Regions from separate parts of the Homo sapiens genome. Here region 2 is linked to region 1. The links are contacts of gene promoters, found by promoter capture Hi-C in blood cells and fetal thymus (Javierre and others, 2016). All regions are on one chromosome and are shown on one strand. Each heading gives the region's core, a stretch centred on a gene start or on the middle of the fragment in contact. The rest is flanking DNA. Distances are from core to core; before and after follow the strand shown. Region 1 holds the start of SH3YL1 (SH3 and SYLF domain containing 1). Region 2 has its middle 26 kb from the start of LINC01874.

What was found. The method cuts DNA at HindIII sites, captures the fragments that hold promoters and counts their contacts. A CHiCAGO score of 5 or more calls a contact.
Region 2: a contact is called between a fragment that was not itself captured here and the fragment with the promoter of SH3YL1 in region 1, in 1 of 17 cell types (naive B cells). The highest score is 6.0, in naive B cells.

The regions. Positions count from the first base shown.
Region 1 is chr2:262,656-265,781 of GRCh38, forward strand. SH3YL1 (SH3 and SYLF domain containing 1) reads right to left here and starts at 1,377. Exons shown (of 10, transcript NM_015677.4): 1 at 1,329-1,377. The coding sequence starts at 1,329. It overlaps ACP1 (acid phosphatase 1), which reads left to right and starts at 2,292. Exons shown (of 6, transcript NM_004300.4): 1 at 2,292-2,352. The coding sequence starts at 2,310. RefSeq lists silencers at 1,273-1,852, 1,923-2,002 and an enhancer at 2,353-2,402. The HindIII fragment of the contact is 12,050 bases long and covers 1-3,126 here.
Region 2 is chr2:465,563-468,481 of GRCh38, forward strand. No RefSeq gene overlaps it. Among named protein-coding and RNA genes, the nearest start is that of LINC01874, 26 kb to the right of the region's middle. The HindIII fragment of the contact is 8,460 bases long and covers 1-2,919 here.

The sequences.
Region 1 (3,126 bases), core at 127-2,626:
GACTTGTGAGGCTCTCAGCAGAGTCAGGGTAGCAGTTATTTCCCTTTGACTGCCTCAACTTCCTATGTTTGTGTTGACATGCCAGATCCTTATTTCTGCGGAATGAGAAATCTCTTGAGAATAAAGTTTTCCTAAACAGAACAAAAGTATCAAATCACTTTTGATGAGCAAACATTATTTTAAACTTTTTTTTAACTTACAAAAGATGAGGGGTAACATTTACTAGTTTTACAGAAATTTTCTTTAAACAGAACATTAGTGAACCAAATAACCAATTCTCCTCAAACATGATAGACAGGATGGAGGTTATCACTTTGATCATTTTAACCTCCAACATAGTAATTTGTAAACATCAGTCGCTGCACAAGTATTTTAATAACAGGCCAGCCCACGGGAGTAAACAGCACCTTAGCCTCGAGACCTGTTCTCTCAACTGTGTGTACAGATTTTCTAAGTCGTTATGAATTCAGATATTCCCTACATCTCAATAAAAACACCTAGGAGAACAAGAAATCAGGACATGCATCTCCTGTAAGCAGAAGAGAAACCGAGCACCTGCTCTCTTGCGGGGGGGCAGCTTCGTGTCACTTTCCAACTCAGCCTCCACAGGAGCATGGGCATATTGGTTCAAATGAAGTGTAAAGGACACATCTCTGTCCACAGTGTAAATCCTATTTCCTTAAGGTGGTCAACCGATTGAGACCAGTTCCACACTTCCTTAAAGAAGGAAAAACTCAGCAGCCAGCGCCAAGGCCCAGCGATCAGAGAGGACCCGTGCTCGCCGCGACCCCGCGCTCGCCCTGTGGCCCCGCGACCCCGGCGCCAGGTGTTGGGGGGACCGGCCCTTCCCTTCCGGGTGTGAGGGGCTGGCCCTTCTCTTCCAGGTTGGGGGGCTGGCAAACTCGAACCTCGCCGGCGCCCTAGCCAAGGCCTCCTCCCCGCGCCTGCCGCGGGTTCCACGCACATTCCAAGCGCGCGCATTCGACCCAAACTTCAGAGACGCTTCTGTGGAACGGAAGGATGGTCGCTGACACCTCGCCGTTCAAATATCAGGAAGTTAAAAATAACACGACCATCGTCATCATTCCAAACTTCGGAATAGCTTTTCTAAAAATGGAAAAGACGGTGGCTAAACTTCAATCAAAATCGCTGTGGTCAAGAAAGTCCTGGAAGCTGCTCTATCTTAACTTTGGGCGGTTTGCGGTTAACAGACGCGCGACCTAGAAACCCCAGAGGCATCGCCGGTTTTCCCGTCCTCCTCCTCCCACCACCGCCCAGCTCTTGAGAGGGGAGGGTGCTGCCGGACAGGTGGGTCCCCGGGTACTCACTGCTGCCCGCCCGGCCGCGGCGCCCCGTCCCGAGGCTGCCCAGGAAGAGGAAGGCGCGCTGCCCCGCCCCGCGGACAAGGAGGCCCCAGCGAGGGCGTACCTGCGGCAGGTGACGAAGGAGGCGGCGCAAAACACCCGCCGTGTACGTTTCGCGGGACAAAAACCACGCGCCCGCCGGGCCGCGCTCAGGCCTTCGCCCTCAGGGACTTCGGAACCGCCCCGTCCTCAAGATCGAAAAGCCCAGAGCCCCGCGGCGGCTCCAAGCACGGTGTTGGGGGTGGGGGTCTCAGGGAGCGCCCAGGCCCAAGGCCGCCCTGGTCCGGCGTGGACCCCGCGGGGCTCAAGGCAGGTTCCCCGCGTGACCCGCCCAGCCCCTCTATGCGAACTCGAACGACAGGCACCACAGCCCGCCACGTGCGCGAGACTCGCGCTGTGCCCCAACCCAGGTGGGCGGCCCGCGGAGCCGCGAGGCCTGAGCCCGCCCTGCAGGTGACCCGCGGCCCTTCCTCCTCCAGGTACCCCTCTCCTGCGGCCCCGTCCCCTATAGGTAACCTTTACCTCCCGCGGCTCCTTCCCCTCCAAGCGACCCGCAGCCCCGCCCCCTCCAGGTGACTCCCCCCCGCCAACCCCCGCCACCACACACACACACCCCCTCGCCTTCCGCGGCCCTACTCCCTCCAGGTGACCCCACCCCCGCAGCTCCTCCTCCTCCGGACAACCTGCAGCCCCGCCCCTGCAGGTGAACGGCGGCCCAGTCCCTGCAGGTGACCCGCGGACCCTCCCCGCCCGTCCTACTACCGTCATAGGACCGCCTCCGCAGGCGCACTGGAGCCGATTGCGCAGGCGTGGCTCTCACACGCGCTGCCCTGTTGGCGTTGGTGCGGGACTGCGCAGGCGCGCGGGGCAAGAGGGTGGCAGTGCGCCTGCGCCGCGTCGGCGTGCGGAACGCCGCGGTGTCTCGGCGCCTCTGCGCGCGGGAAGATGGCGGAACAGGCTACCAAGTCCGTGCTGTTTGTGTGTCTGGGTAAGAGGGCGCCGACTTACTCATGTTCTGACGTCCTCTGGAGAGTTGGATCGGGCTTGTGCGCTGTAGGTTGTGCCGCCGGCCTAGGAACCATGAGGGGGAGGAGGCCAGGGACTGGGAGGCCTAGGGTGTTCTAGGAGTGTGCCGCAGCGCCCCTGTTCCCCATCCGCCCCGTGCACCCGCCCAGCCTGCCCGCTAAACCTGGGTCCCCTCGCGCCTGCCATATATCCGGGGCTCTTGGCATCTGCAGCCACAGCCCCTACAAGCCAAGGTACTTTCTTTGCGACTACTAGAATCCCTCTCGTTCCCCTCCAATGGGCCCAGGTAGGCCTGGAGGTTGTCGGACTGATGTGGTCTCTTAGGGGCCTCCTGAGTCCTATGACAACATTGTTTTGTTTGCTAGTTTCCTTAGCCCATGCTTAGATAGGGATCTGAGTTAAAGGGAGATGAAGTTTTACGGTTTCGGGTTTCTTGATTGTAAAAGCCAAGCAAAGGAGACCTGGAGGTCCCTATATAACTTTGGCCCATGAAAAATGAAAGTGTATTTTATTAATGGCTTTTCAGGAACTTTCCAGCTTAAATTATTTTCACTCCTAGAATTTCAACACTTAGCTTGCCTTACTTCAAACATAATTTATTTTCCGTTTGGTCTTCAGGGATCTTCCTTTGGTGTAGCACTACAAGGTTATATTCCTCGGTGCCTCCACCCTGAGAGGAAGGCCTAAATTGTCAGTAGTCCGGTTACTTAAAACCTTCTGTGAGTTTGCATTTCCT
Region 2 (2,919 bases), core at 154-2,653, 200 kb after region 1:
CAATAAAGAATTTAATCTGTTTCATAACAATTCTAATTATGACATAAGGCAGAAAAAGGTCACATAATTTGGAAACCAGGATTTCCAGATGCGTAAGCCTCCACTGGGCTCAGGGTCTGTTTGATCGACTAGCTACATCCAGGTCTGTGGTTCTGCGGAAGGCTGTTTCAGAATATTTGAGGATGCATACAACCAGGAAATTTATTTAAAACAAAGAAAATGGCGCTTGTGTTATATATGACGAAAAATTGTAAAACTTGAGGTCATTCTATAAAAAGCCGTCCTGACTTTAGTACTTTTCTACAAATAAACGTGTTTTTACAACGCTGTCCCACCACAGCATGTACACAAGGTGGGCCCATCACGCCACATCCCTGCCCCTAGGACGCTGAGAAACATTTTAATCAATCCTGACACTGAGAAACATTTTAATCAATCCTGAAGTTTCCACATTTTGAAGCAACTGTTTTAATTATTCTCTTAAGGGCTGGCAATAGGCGAGACACCTGTTTTCTAGTTCAGGGTTAAAAATAGCTTGAATAGCTGGTGTTTGCGAAGGATTTCACAGATTTCCTGCTGTTTCAGCCGAGCCACACATTTCCCTTGAGAAGTAGACAAAAAAATGAATGTGTCCATTTCAGTCATGGAAGAAACGGCGCCTTCCAGTCACCAGATAGACGGGAATCTCATCACGCTCAGGCCTTCCAACACCCAGCTGTCTATTTTTCACCATGGAGGTTATCTCTGATGACTGTAGCCCCTGATCTTCATTCCTCATCTGTTAAGGGGGACCTGAGGACTTCTTTTTTTTTCTTTTTTTCTTTTTTTTTTTTTTTTTTTGAGACGGAGTCTGGCTCTGTCGCCCAGGCTGGAGTGCAGTGGCGCGATCTCGGTTCACTGCAAGCTCCGCCTCCCGGGTTCACGCCATTCTCCTGCCCCAGCCTCCCGAGTAGCTGGGACTACAGGTGCCCGCCACCACGCCCAGCTAATTTTTTGTACTGATAGTAGAGATGGGGTTTCACTGTGTTAGCCAGGATGGTCTCGATCCCCTGACCTTGTGATCCACTCGCCTCGACCTCCCAAAGTGCTGGAATTACAGGCGTGAGCCACAGCACCCGGCCCTGAGGGCCTCTAAGGTAGCGTTTCACTCGCTAGGAATTTCCAGTCTCCTCCGAGTTCCGAAGGTTCGTTCACGGGACCGTGAGCATCTTGCCTTCATCCTTCTTCACTGTTAACCAACCCTTTACTGTGTGACTATTTCACCGTCTATTTATTTTTCTGGCAAGGATTTTTTTTTCTGCCTGTTATTGGATCCCTAACTCACACTACAAACCAAAGCCTACGTTTTAAATGAAATATTTTAACATTTTGAATAAAATACCAGAAACTATTCAGAACCACCAATGACATCAGATGTACTGGCTGCCCGGCTCCCTTCTGCACTTGCCCCTTAATAAATTCCTTTAATCCTCGAAACGATCCCGCAGAGGGATCCTGGCATTATTTCGTCTTAGAAAAACTGAATTCGAAATGCAGAGAGTTGAACCCACGTGTCCAGGTCTGGTCTGCGATCGGCAGGCGCCCCAGTGTCCCCATCAGGCAGCTGCAGGAACCCGTCCTCCCTCCCACCTGGGCCCTGGGAGGCTGTGCAGATGCGTCTGGAGCCGGCAGGGAGAAATCCCTCTCCAGCTTCTTCTCTTCCTGGGACTGCACAGGCTCCTCTAGGGTCCCCGCGGGCCTGGCCCCAAAGCCTCCTCCTGTTCACCCTTCCTGGCAGCCCACCTGCCAGGGAGAGCAGCTCCTGAGCTATGGGGAGTGGAGAGGCCCTCCCCGCCCCGCCCGGAGCTGGCTCTGTGGCCCCTGCATGGGTGGGGGTGGTGCTCTGTCCGCTCAGCAGGGGCACCCACCCGGGACAGAGAACAGGCGTGTGAATGAAAGATAACTGGGCTTTTCCTAAACTGTTTAAAAGTAAAGTACCATTTACACAAAGAACCCGGTCTCGAGATTTGTAAGTGACGCCTGTCCAGACAACGTATTATTCCATGCAGTTTCCACATCACGTGGGCTTTTATTTGGTTCAGCAGTGGCCACAGTAAGCCCTGCCCTGGGGCATTAGCTGGTGCCCTTGTACGCGCACAAACCAAGCATTTTATTGCATAATCCAAAATGATGTAGCCTGTGGCCTGTCGGGAGGCGCTCCCTTCTTGTGGAGGAAGGAAGGTCAAGAAGGAGCTCCCGGCAGACCAGGGTTCGCTGCGCCCAGAGACCTGCCCAGAGACCTGCTGCACGCCGGGGCGCAAGGCCGAGTCATCCCAGGCGTCCGTGGGCCGTGATTCCCACTCACGCCGGGGGCCCAGGCAGGCAGAGAAGAGTTAATGAGCGCGCAAGTGCAGGCGGTCACTCCTGGGCCTGAAACTCCCGCGCTGTGCATTCAGGGCCCTCGTGGCTCTCAGAGGCGCGTCCCAGGGGCGCACACTGCACCTTGGGCTGGGCAGCTCCGCCGGGTTGTGGCGAGCGGATGAGGGAAGGACGCAGAAACCAGGGCGGAGGAGCCGCGAGGGGCAGGACGAGGCTGCATGGGCCAGCGAGGGGGTCGACACCGAGCCAGAGTGAGCGCGGGGCCTGGGGCGCAGAGCCCGCCCAGGGAGCCGGGAGACGCCGCGCAAGCTCCCCGGACAAACGCAATGACCGAGGACGCGCGGGCGAGGCCGTCCAGGGAGCCCTGGTCCCTCAGCTGCACCGGACTGAGCCGCGACCGCTCAGCACGCGCTGCTTATAAATCAGGGGTGCGCTTCCCAAGCCCCGGGTGAGGTCCCCTACGTCGGCACAGCCTTAGGAGCTGCAAAGCAGCGCGCGCCTCCGGGGCTCCTGCGCGCCCCTTGAACCCCGCCTCCCGCATCCTCCTGCAACAGCCTGGAG